Linked DNA regions of Homo sapiens: region 2 is linked to region 1. The links are contacts of gene promoters, found by promoter capture Hi-C in blood cells and fetal thymus (Javierre and others, 2016). All regions are on one chromosome and are shown on one strand. Each heading gives the region's core, a stretch centred on a gene start or on the middle of the fragment in contact. The rest is flanking DNA. Distances are from core to core; before and after follow the strand shown. Region 1 holds the start of CCDC70 (coiled-coil domain containing 70). Region 2 overlaps NEK5 (NIMA related kinase 5).

The links. Contacts are between HindIII fragments. The CHiCAGO score rates a contact against its expected background, and 5 or more counts as called.
Region 2: a fragment that was not itself captured here is called in contact with the fragment with the promoter of CCDC70 in region 1 in 7 of 17 cell types (erythroblasts, naive CD4 T cells, total CD4 T cells and 4 more); the score reaches 9.0 in erythroblasts.

Annotation. Positions count from the first base shown.
Region 1 is chr13:51,859,917-51,866,189 of GRCh38, reverse strand. CCDC70 (coiled-coil domain containing 70) reads right to left here and starts at 4,221. Exons shown (of 2, transcript NM_031290.4): 1 at 3,961-4,221; 2 at 1-858. The coding sequence starts at 778. The coding sequence ends at 110. It also overlaps a transcript of TMEM272 not described here. RefSeq lists an enhancer at 3,420-4,619. The HindIII fragment of the contact is 6,103 bases long and covers 993-6,273 here.
Region 2 is chr13:52,114,945-52,121,694 of GRCh38, reverse strand. It overlaps NEK5 (NIMA related kinase 5), which reads left to right. Exons shown (of 24, transcript NM_001365552.1): 4 at 2,280-2,376. Among named protein-coding and RNA genes, the nearest start is that of NEK5, 11 kb to the left of the region's middle. The HindIII fragment of the contact is 1,857 bases long and covers 2,304-4,160 here.

The DNA.
Region 1 (6,273 bases), core at 2,972-5,471:
AAGCAAGGAGACCAATGAGTGTGTATTTTCTCCAGCACATGGGCTCACCCTGGACTTGAATCCCAACCCAGGGGAGTCTGGACCACAGGGCCCTGCACCTGCATGCTGGCTACGCCCTGCCTCGGGAGAAGGCCAGCAAGCGCTGCCCTCTGTTGGCGTTGTGGGGCCCATCTTCGAGCATCTGCTCTCCGGCAATGTGGCCATTGTTCTCCATCCAGAAGGCCCTCTCTTCCTCCCAGAGGGCATTCTCTTCCTCCCAGAGGGACGTTTTATCTTCCCACAGGGCTTTCTCCCCCTCAAGGAGGGCTCTTTCCTCTACCCACAGGGCCTTTTCTTCCTCCCACAGGGCCTTGTCCTCCTGAAGAAGGTTCCGGTCTCTTTCCCATAAGGCATTGTCCTCTTTCCAGAAGGCCTTATCCTCCTTCCAGAAAGTGCGGTACTTTTTCCAGAAAGTTTTCTCTTCCTCCCTGAAAGACTTTTCCATTTCCCAGAAGGATTTTTCCTCTTTCCAGAAGGTTTTCTCCTCTTCCCAGAAAGGTCTCTCCTCTTCCCAAAAACCCAGGATCTGGCCCCGGAAAGCATGGATCTTGCCTCGGAAAGTCCACATCTCTTCCCTGAAGTCCTCTATTTTTTCACGAAAAATTTTCATCTCTTCGCGAAAAGCCTTTTCCTCCTGCAGCTTGTGCATTAGTTTCTTCTGGCGAATACTGGGAGAGGATGCCGCCAGGGACCGGAAGCAGGCAAGCCCCATCCATCTGCTCACCTTGAAGGAAAACATCTTCCTTATCAGCCGGAATGGCGGGGTGGCCATGAGGGATGACAGGACCCTTGGCCAGGTCCAGGTCGGCTGGTCAGACCCTGTGGGGGCAGCAGAAAAGACAGATCTATGAGTATCACATGCCAGGGGACGGCCCTTGGTTCTGTACTACTGAATTTGAGAAAATGTAATCACTGCTCTTTGTCCACATGGTGGTGTTTGTGAGGGACAAGCTTTGGTAGAAAAACATGTGGGGTGGTCATGGCTTTGAGCTGGAGAGGCAGTCAGTACATTCAAGCTCAAGGCTGCTAAAAACGTAGACACTCAGCCAAGAAGGACAGTGGCTGTCAACTAGGGTATCAGAACACATAGGTGTGACATGATGAGGCCAAGAAGAATTTACGTTTGTTAAATCAATCCGAATGAATTTAGGTTTTGGTGTACTCACTTGAGAATTGTTCCTATCTGCCTATGGGCATGCTCACGTGTGAATGTCCTCTGTTACGAGCCTGGGACACAGAAGACAGGCCCACTGACCTCAGAGGGGAGGAGGAGAGTGTATTTTAGGAGAGGAGTTTATTTTGGGAAAAGTGGTTTAAAACAAAAAGGTGAGAGACGATGGTGAATGTTTCCAGGGACATGGACCAAGAAGGCCCTCACACAATATTTAGTAATATGGAACAATAAGAAAGACACCAGATGACCCGCAGCTCCAGTCCCAGGTATAAACCCTGAGGAAACTTAGGAACTGTGACTAGGATACATGTACAAGTGTGTTCAAGGAGCTTTGTTCATAAGAGCTCAACTCTGGAAACAATCCAATGACCATCCCAATAGAGTGGAATAAAAAATGGCAGTATATCCACATGGCAGACAGCATGGCTGCCTACAACAGCATGGGTAAATCTTATAAACCCAATGCTGAAAGAGAGAAGCAGGATCAGGGAATTTCAAAGAATGAAGTTCCAAACAAGCAAGACTAAATGCCATTGTCTAGGGGAACATACTTCAACACAGAAAGAGAAAAGCAAGGAAGTGAGTCCCAAAGTCAGAGTAATAGTTGCTGGTGTGGGAGGATTTGGAGTGTGGGATGAGGAGGTGAGACTAAGGGGTGTGATTAGGTGAGTACTTGAGAGAGGCTTCTGCAGTGCTAGCAGGACTCTTTCTTTGCTTGGTGGCGGTTTCATGTGTGTTGTTATAAAAATGTGTTAAGTGGTACATGGATATTTTATGTACCCCAGTCAATACAGTATATTTCACAATAAAATAAAAGCTGGGAGGAAGAAAGAAGGAAAAGAAAAAAAGAAAAGAAAAAGAGAGGGAGGGAAGGAAGGAAGGGAGGGAAGGAAGGGAGGGAGGGAAGGAGAAAGATCTTCAAACATTGCCATATATCTGAGGAATCAGATAGCAGAATTATCCATAGCAATCCCTGTAACTACAAACATGAATCAAGGGATGAGAAAAAGTGCTGGACATAGGAAGGTGGTTAGAGTGCAGTAAAGAGCTCAGTGTTGTCAGATAAGGAGTGCAGGCACATGCTGACAGCATTGTTTTCCATTTTGTGCTTTCTGGAGGAAGCTGCCAGGGTCCGGCCCTCACTCAGTGGATCTCACCAACCCATCATCCGTGAGACCTATTGGGGAAATTTTCAGGGCTTTCTCTGTATTTTTCCATTTCTGGTTTAGGAACAGGGAGTGGAGGAGGAGAAAAGACACATAGCTGGTGTGTGTGTGTGTGTGTGTGTGTGTGTGTGTGTGTGTCTGTGTGCGCGTGCATATGAAGACACAGTGGCTAGGCTGTGGACAGCTGGTGGCATCACCATCCATCCAGTCACACAAACCAGAACCAGGGGCACATCCTTGACCTTTCCCTCTCCCTCACCAGACTTCTCTCCTCAACCATCAAGCCCTCCTAGCCGAGATCCAGATCCTTAACATTTCCTGAAACCATGCCCCTGTTCCATCTCCCCCATGACAGCCAGGTCAGGCCAGGATGCCTGTAACAGTCTCGCTGCTCTCTGTATTGATCTTACCCTCTCATCTGCCCCTGCACTGTAGCCCTACAGGTGTTTTCTAGAACACTCTCTCGTCCTATCACATCAGTTCACACACCTTCAAAGACCCTGTAGCCCAAAGATCAAAGCTGAACGCCCTAGGAAGGCCTTGTGCAGCCCAACTCCAGCTTGCTTCTCCCTCTCCTTCCTACCCAGCCTGCACCCAACTCCAAATCTAAGGCCCAGTATTAACGGGCTCTATTCAGCTCTTGGCACTCTGCCTGCAGTTTCCTGCCTGTGTGGTGAAGCACATGTCGCATCCTCTACTGAGAGCCCCTTTTGTTCCTGTGGTGGGCTTGAATTCCTGTACATCCTTTCCCCTCTGAAAGCTACTCGGACCCTCCAGACAAAGTTCCTCGCCACCTCTGCGATACTGTCTGTCTGTTACTCCACTATTACTTGTCACACTTGATTGAAATTAGGTGTGGACATGTCTTCCTGACATCTCTGTAACCCAGCAGCTATCATAATATAACGCCGCCTATATAGGAGGGAATTGGTGAAAATGTTGGTTGAATTGAACTGAATTGAACTGCATTTTGGAAATTTGATTTTCTATGTTGTATGGCTCTTTGCCTAGAATCCCTCCAATATGTGAAGTCCTCCCTCACTTCCATGTCATGCTGGCCCCCTCTCCCTGGATATCCTTGCCCAACCTCACTTCAGTTCACCTAGCGAATCCTTCAGCACTCAGATACCTCCTCCAGGCCATCTCTCCTAAGCTCAGACTGAGCATGTGCCCTTCCTGTCCCACTAGAAACACCTCATCTTCCATCTCTATGTCTGGCATCCAGCGAAATGTTCTGCCACAGGATAGGTGTTCAGGAAATAGTAGCTGGATGAATGGGCGTCTACTGGGTTAGGATGTTGGAAAACATTCACCTCCAAGTTTTTCTCAAGTGAACACTAAACTTTCTTTAAGAAAGAAAGAAAATAAGAACCATATCAAATAGGTAGATGTGTATTAAAATATAAAGTACAATATAAAACTGTAGATGTGTATCTGTATAGCTGTAAAAACATGCACTAAAGATACATGCCCAGTTTTCAGTTATACTGTAAGACTAGGAGCTTCTTTTTAAGGAAAATATTATATATTACCTTATGCTTAGAACAAATACTATACAGTCTAAAGCCAACAGTTACTTACTGCTTAGCTGCTTCCCACTGGGGTAAGTCCTGTAGCCCTCAGAGGGGGCAGGCGGCCATTGTCATGTCAGATCCCCAGTGATGCGTGCTTGCAGGCTTGCCCCAACAATGCTGGCAGTGACCTGTCTGTGCCCTTTCAGTCCTGACTCACAGGATGGAGATGGCCAAGAAGGGGACCCCTATAAAAGACTTTAAGGAAAGGAGGGGGCACTTGAAAGGTTTGAAAGAGTTCCTCTTCAATCTTTGACTTCACTGATAGGGCAGTGCTGTTGATGACTCACAAGTGATTGTTACCTTAGATTCTGTCAGCATTGGTTCCGGGAGCATGGTTCTAGGAAGTCATGTTCTGGTGGGGGCTTTGTGTGGGATGAATCACTTCTCTTGCTGCTTTCCAGATTCTTCGTCTTTGGCTTTTGATAGTTTGACTATGATGTGTCTTGGTCTTGAGGTTTATTCTACTTGGAGATTGTTGAGCTTCTTGGATATGCAGATTTGATGCCGTTTTTCATCAAATTTCAGAAGTTTTTGGCCATTATTTCTTCAAATATTCTTTCATCCATTTTCTCTGTCTCCTCTCCTTCTAGGGCTCATATTATGTGAATACTAGTAGCGTGAGTGTGTCCCCCAGGTCTCTAAAGTTACGTTCATTTTTCTTCATTCTTTTTTCTTTCTGTTGCTTAGATTAGATAATCTCAATTAACCTGTTTACAAGTTCATGGATTTTTTTCTTCTGTCAGTTCAAATATGCTGTTGAATCCCTCTTTAATTTTTCATTTTCAACTCCAGAATTTTTGTCATGTAGTAAAATTTTTAAATAGTCAAGTAAATTAACATATCCATCATCTCATATAGTTACCCTTTTTTGTGCACTGTAGCAAGAGCACCCACAATCTACTCTCTTAGCAAAAATCTTTAATACAGTGTTATTAACTACAGTCCTCATGTTGTACCTTAGATCTCTAAATTATTTATCCTATATATCTGCAACTTTGTACCCTTTGATTTCCCTCTTCCCGTCCACTCCCCACACGTAGCAGCTGCCATTTTATTCTTTGTCTGTGTATTTGACTTTTTTCTTACTTCTTCTTTTTAATTTTTTTAATATTCTACATATAAGTGAAGTTGTGCAGCATTTTTCTTTCTGTGTCTGGCTTATTTCACTTAGCATAATATTCTCCAGTTTCATCTATCTTGTGACAAACGGCAGGATTCTCTGTTTATGACTGAATAATATTCCACTTTATATACATGCTGCAATTTCTTTATCCATTCATCTGTCAGTGGACCCCTAGTCCATCCAGAATTTCTCCAGAAATTTTCACTGTGTCTCCAGAATTTGTTTGGTTATATATAGAAAAGGATATATGTGCTTTTCTATATACATATATATACACACACACACACACACACACTTCTATATATATATTTTTTCTATATATCTATATAAAAGTATATGTATACAAAGTGTGTGTGTGTGTATATATATATATACACACACACATATATATATGTATGCACACATACTTTTCTGTCTCTTTTTGGTAAGGCATAGTTTTTAATTCTTTCCTTTAATGCTTTTTTTTTTTTTTTTTGAGACATGTTTCTGTCACTCAGGCTGGAGTGCAATGGCATGGTATGATCTTGGCTAACTGCAGCCTCAATTTCCTGGACTCAAGTGATCATCCCACCTCAGCCTCTCAAGTAGCTGGGACTACAGGCGTGCGCCACCAGACCTAGCTAATTTTTTGTGTTTTTTTAGAGATAAGGTTTCTCCATGTTGCCCAGGCTGGCCTCAAACTTCTAGGCTCAAGTGATCTACCCATTCGGCTTCCCAAACTGTTGGGATTATAGGTGTGAGCCATCACACCTGGCCTTGTTTTCCTTTAATTCTTTTGGAATGGTTTCTTTTAGTTCTTTAACTACATTTGTAATAGCTGACTAAAAATCTTGGTTTAATCGCCCAATATCTGCAATTCCTCAGAGACAGTTTATAACCAAAAAGACAATTACTCAGAGAATAACAGTTTCAGGCCAGGCATGGTGGCTCATGCCTGTAATCCTAGCACTTTGGGAGGCCGAGGAGGGAGGATGGTTTGAGCGTCCTCCTGGTAGGAGTTTGAGACCAGCCAGAGCAACATAACAAGACCCTGTCTCTACAAAACTAAAATAAATTAGTCAGTTGTGGTGGTGCATGCCTGTAGTCCCAGCTGCTTGGAAGGCTGAGGAAGGAAGGATCATTTCAGTGCAGGAGGTCGAGCTGCAGTGAGCTATGATCGTGCCACTGCACTCCAGCCTGGGTGACAGAGTGAGACCC
Region 2 (6,750 bases), core at 1,983-4,482, 260 kb before region 1:
TTGCCATTAAGAGTAAGGTTACCACCTATGGGCTTTCGTCTGTGGGCTAGATGAGAAAGAAAGAGGGAAGTTTCACTTTTACCTTATTCACTTCTATTTGACTTAAAACAAGCGTGCATTATTAGAGTAACTTAAAAACTAGCAATAAAACACTGTAACAAAGTCTTTTGTATGAGAACTCTTCTGTACCCTTTTATTATCTTCTTTGGATAAATTTCTAGAAGAATTAGTCAAAAATAGGAACATTTCCCTCATGCCTGTAATCCCAGCACTTTGGGAGGCTGAGGCAGCTAGATCACTTGAGGCCAGGAGTTCGAGAGCAGCCTGGGCAACATGGTGAGACCCCATCTCTACTAAAAATACAAAAAATTAGCCGGGTATGATGGTGCTTGCCTGTGGTCTCAGCTACTCAGGAGGCTGAGGTGGGAGGATCACTTGAGCTCAGTGGGCAGAGGCTGCAGTGAACCAAGATCATGCCACTGCACTCCAGCCTGGGTGATAGAGCAAGACCTTGTCTTAAAAAAAAAAAAAAAAAGATTTCTTCAGCAGGATACAGACCCCCCACAAAAATGAACATTTTAAAGATTCATATTATATATTGTAAAACTGCCTTCCCAGAAATATTTTATCAATTTGTGTAGTTTTACCAGAAATAAATGAGTGTCCATTTTGCTGCTTTCTGGCCAATAGTAGTTATTGACATTCTTTTCATCTTTGCCAGTTTCATACATGGAATACTATATTACATTTTGTTTTAGCTTTTATTCCTTTTTTTTTTTTTTTGCAATGGAGTCTTACTCTGTCACCCAGGCTGGAGTGCAGTGGTGTGATTTTGGCTTACTGCAGCCTCCATCTCCCAGGTTCAAGGGATTCTCCTGCCTCAGCCTCCTGAGTAGCTGAGACCACAGGTGTGTGCCACCACGCCTGGCTAATTTTTTGTGTTTTTAGTAGAGACAGGGTTTTGCTATGTTGGCCAGGCTGGTCTTGAACTCCTGGCCTCAAGTGATCTGCCTGCCTTGGCTTCCCAAAGAGCTGGGATTACAGGCATGAGCTACCACACCCAGCCAAATTTTGCTTTAGTTTTTATTCCTTTGATTACTGCATGAGATTGAATATTTTTTCTATCAGCCATTTTTATTTCTCTTTTTTTTTCGAGTTGACTATTCTTGTACTTTGCTATTTTTCTGTTGGGGTGTTTGCCTTTTTAAAAATTATTTGCCATCAATTTTTATATTATAAATATATTTGTCATATATGGTACAAATATTGTATCTTATCCTTTTGTTTGTCTTTTAATTTTGTTTATAATATTCTTTTAAATAAATAGTAGTTAGGAATTTTTTAAGTTGCTAAATGTATCCAGCTGGTAGGAGTAATTTAGCTGTTTTTGTTTTGAAACTCCTATGTACTGACTATACAATTTAAATTGGGGCAGGAAACACTGAAGCTTAGAGGGGTTTAAGGAACTTACTGAAGGATCCTTCAGCTGAGATGTAGGGAAGCTAGAATTGAGAATATTAATTTTTAAGAAGTTCTTAAGTCTAAATGAGAATGAGAAATCTGGCCAATGTTGAAGACCTCTAATGGGTGGAGGCCCCGTGGACATCAGAAAAGCGGGGCAGTCAGGGGCTGGAAGTCAGGGTAGAAATGACAAGTCAGCAAAGCATCAAGAGTGAGGAAGAAAAAGTAGAAATGAGGTGTGGCCACTGGTACTGGCACCAAACCCCTTGGCAAGTATTGTCTATAGGTGAAAGTAGAACAAGAAAATACACCCAAATACTTCTAAAATGAAGTCATGCAAGACAATTTTTATTTGAAAATGAAAAATGTAGTCATCTTAATACAAAATTTTACTGACCTGATTTCTGTGGGATATGACACATTTTCTTTTTTTAGATTTCATTTGTTTCTTCTCAGCAGTGATTGCTCCTGGAATGTTGCATTTTTATAAAGAATTCCTTCGCTACTGAAAGATAGATATTAAAATATGGCTCCATATGGCTAGATAATGAACACGGTACCACCAGTCCAACTTTTAATATAGCAAAACTTCACCAGAAATATTTATTTTCTTGATGATGGTTGTCAACAAACCATTGATGAGATGTAGGGCACTCTGCTAATTCTAGAAATGTTGTTTCCTGCCATTGAAAGATCGTTTTCAAAGTGACATTAAAAGCCAGTGAAATCCTAGAGAATTTTAGATGGAAATGAGCAGAAAGCATGTTCTTGAAACCAAGTTAGCTTTATAGACTACTCTGTCTCTTAATGTAATTTAGATGCCCATACAAGAAAAAGAAGCTTCAAAGAAAGAAGTGATTCTTCTGGAAAAGATGAAACATCCCAACATTGTAGCCTTCTTCAATTCATTTCAAGGTTTGATTTTCTAATATTCGTTAAGTATTTTTATAAAGTATAGGCATGTTGACATATGTAAAAAGATTTGTTCCTAAGGACTGTGTATAAATTAATTTTTGTAAATGGGTCATTTCCCCATTTACTTAAATTGCAGCTTGAGACGTCCTCGTTATTTCCTCTCTAGTAAGTTTTTGTAGACGGCTTTCTTATGTTTTCTTGTTTTTCTGCCTCTCCTTAATTCTCACTCTCCCAAAAAATTAATGACTGGCTTATTAGCTTCTTTGCTGTAGTAACAACCCCCAAATTTAAGTGACTTACAATAAGACACATCTATTTCTCACTTACATTACATGCTAGCTGTGGTGGGCTGGGGTCTTGAGTCTGGGGCCCAGGCTGAAGGAGCAGCTCAGATAAGGAACCAGCTGTTCTCATAAGCAAGAGAAGAGGGGAAAACACAGAGCCCACCACACTATCGCTCTCAAAGCCCTGCTAGGATGTGTGTGTTTGTGTGTGTGTGCTGGGGGGTACTCTGTTTACATGAGATCCTGCATATCCTCAGGCAACAGATGGGACTGTGTAATCCTCTTACAGAGAGCCAGCAAACAGCCACGCACCATAGCCTAGCACACTGCCACGGAGAGGGGGAGAACTTTAGGGAAGGAAGTACCTTCCTCTGTACACCTGAATACAATTCTGCTGACAACTTTAGGGAAGGAAGTCCCTTCCTCCATACATCTGAATACAATTCTGCCTCCACGCATCACTGTAGTCCAAAGGTAAAAAATAAATAATAAATGAAGGAGCATTGGTCAGACAGCATTCATTCACTGAACTGATACTTATTGAGTGCTTACTCTATGCCAGGCATTGTTCTAGGTGTCAGGAATATAGCAGTGAACAAAGCAGATGAAAATCCCTGTTTTCATGAAATTTATATTCTAGTGGGAAGAGATAGACAATAAACAAATCTACAGTATGTCAGGTGTGTCTTAAGTTGTGACAGGGCTGTATGTGCTGACAGTTTTATGAAGGGTCATTCCCCAGCCCAGCCCCCAGCGCAGGGCTGTTTTAAGACTGATAATTAGTTCATGGAGCAGAAGTGTTAACCTCAATATCTTCAAGCATCATCAGTTGGGTAAAAGTCAGTCAATAAATAAATACAGCCACTGTGTCTTGAGTATGTAAACTGTGCAGAGCACTGTGTTCCTTACTGATTAAAACCGCTACATTCAAGGTACTTCTGTGTGTATGGCCCTTCTTTGGCTTCTGGGTATTTAAAAAGAGCTCTTGGGACTCTTCTGAGGTCTTCCTGGGAGCAGAACAGTACACATGGTCTGGAATTGGGTTGCATGGAATAACTTTCAAGGAAAGCCACTGAATAAAGTGCCCTGCATTCCTGTCCATTGGATACTGATAATGCTATAAGATGATCTTTCTCTTCTTTATTTTGTTTGAGATTATTGTGACTCTCTGGCTAACTCCTACTTATCCTCAGGCCTTTTCTGAACTCACAATTCAAATTACAGCTCCCTTTGGTTCTCTTCCACAGCAGTTGTACTTACATATGTCTATTTATATAATTATGAATTTGTTTCATATTTGTCGCCCTTTACATGGTAAACTTAATGAATTTTGGGGCTCCATCTGTTTTGCTCACCACTTGATCCTTGGCATGTAGCACACAATGGCTGCTCAATACCTATTTACTGAATGAGCAAATGGACTGGACCACTTTTAGAGACTGGAGTATTTCCTTATACCATGTGAGATTGATTTTTGAGGACAGTTTACCACTGGAAGCTTTTGCAGAACTAAGGTCATTTTTACAGTATACATAACCTCTGCTGTGTTTGTTGATACTGTAAGTTTACATTTTCTTATGACTCTTTTTAAGTAGAGCACCCCTGTGTTTAGGAAAGCTAGAGCTATTGTGATGCCTTTGAGTTTGCTTGGCTGATTGCTGGGACTTGAACTACTGAGCTTATCTAAAAGCCTCAGAGGCCTTGTAGCCTCTGTCTTTTAGAGAGTGTAGGTAAAGGCTTGTTTTCCCTCAAATCGCTTATCTCTGATCATAAGAACCATGGCTCTAATGTTTGTCTATAGAAAATAGAATGTTTTGGCCGGGCGCAGTGGCTCATGCCTGTAATCCCAGCACCCTGGGAGGCCGAGGCGGGCAGATCACCTGAGGTCAGGAGTTCAAGACCAGCCTGGCCATGGTGAAACCCCGTCTCTACTAAAAATACAAAAACGTTTAGCCGGGCATGGTGGTGTGCACCTGTAATCCCAGCTACTTGGGAGGCTGAGGCAGGAGAATCGCTTGAACCTGGGAGGCAGAGGTTGCAGTGAGCTGAGATTGCGCCACTGCACTCCAGCCTGGGCAAGAAGAGTGAAACTCTGTCTCAAAAAAAAAAAAAGAAAATAGGATGTTTTTATTGGTTTGAAGCAACATAAGAAAAATAATGAGAATGTAGTGATATTTTCCTAAGACAAAATTAATTCCATGTATATTCCATCAATAAACATTCACTAAGTGTCTGTTATATGCCAGGCATGTTCTAGGTCTTGGAGATATATCAGCAAACAAAATAGGCAAAAATTCCCATGCTGTTGTATTTGTTTTCTATTACTACATAACAAATGAACACAAATTTAGTGGCTTAACAACAACACCTATTTATTATCTCTTGATTTCTGTAGGTCAGAAGCCTGAGGTTGGCTTAGCTGGATTCTCTGCCCGGAGTCTCAGCTAGTTGAAATCAAGGTGTCAGCTGGGACTGTTATCTGTGGCTCATGGTCCTCTTCTAAGCTTATTTAGGTTGTTATAGATTTCATTTACTTGCAATTGGGTTAATTGGATCATGGCTCACTGCAGCCTTGAACTCCTGGCCTCAAGTGATCCTCTCGCCATGGCCTCCAAAAGTGCTGTGAGTACTGTGCCTGGCCAGAAAGAGCTCTTTTACATTTATTTAAACACAGAGTTTTATTTTATATTACTCTAATGCACACATAAAAAAGAAAATATAAGCAAACAAAGTTGGTTAAGGTATTCTAAAAATTATTTAGGCAGTGAAAACATTAAGCCTGCCGGGTCTACAGCAAGTGATTGGAAGATGCCAATGTCTGTAAGAAACAATCTTGATTTTTTTTTTTTTTTTTTTGAGACAGTCTTACTCTGTTGCCCAGGCTGGAGTGCAGTGGTGTGATTACAGCTCACTGCAGCCTTGACCTTCTGGGCTTAAGGGATCCTCCCACCTCAGTCTCCTGAGTACTGGGACTACAGGCATGTACCCCCACACCTGGCTAATTTTTGAATATTTTTTCATTATAGAGCCAGGTTTTCGCCATGTTGCCCAGGCTGGTCTCAAACACCTAAGTTCAAGCAATCCACCTGCCTTAGCCTTGGCCTCCCAAAGTGCTGGGATTACAGGAGAGAGCTGCTGCGCCAGGCCCTTGATTTTTTAAAAGTGCATTTTAGAATGAATTATAATAATTGTTTAATAAATGTTGGAATTTGACAAATAAAAAGGTTATTTAGTGCCCCTCAATTGTTTTGAAGTGTCAGTGATCCATGAGCTTTACAGCAGATGGAAAATTTGAGAGCATAAATGATTTTTCCAGACACTTCCAATAAATATAAAATTAACAGTGGCTAATGGGGGAAAATCCTTATTTTACAGTCAGATAATGCTAATTGACATTAAGTAGTTTCTTTTTTTTTTTTTTTTTTTTTTTTTTGACGGAGTCTCACTCTGTCACCCAGGCTGGAGTGCAGTGGCACAATCTTGGCTCACTGCACCTCCACCTCCCGGGTTCAAGCAATTCTCCTGCCTCAGCCTCCTGAGTAGCTGGGATTACAGGCGCCCGCCACCATGCCTGGCTAATTTTTGTATTTTTAGTAGGGACAGGGTTTCACTATGTTGGCCAGGCTGGTCTCAAATTCCTGACCTCAGGTGATCCACTCATCTCGGCCTCCCAAAGTGCTGGGATTACAGGCATGAGCCACTGCACCTGGCCAGTAGTTTAAGCTATCTCTGTCGGCCGGGCGCGGTGGCTCACGCTTGTAATCCCAGAACTTTGGGAGGCCAAGGCGGGTGGATCACGAGGTCAGGAGATCGAGACCACAGTGAAACCCTGTCTCTACTAAAAATACAAAAAATTAGCCGGGCATGGTGGCGGGCGCCTGTAGTCCCAGCTACTCGGAGAGGCTGAGGCAGGAGAATGGCGTGAACCCAGGAGGCGGAGCTTGCAGTGAGCCGAGATTGCGCCACTGCACTCCAGCCCAGGTGACAGAGCGAGATTCCGTCTCAAAAAAAAAAAAAAAGGTATCTCTGTCATGATGAATTTTTAGTCAGTTTCTTTCACCAAAAGCCAGTGTAAGGTTGAGTGAGTTGG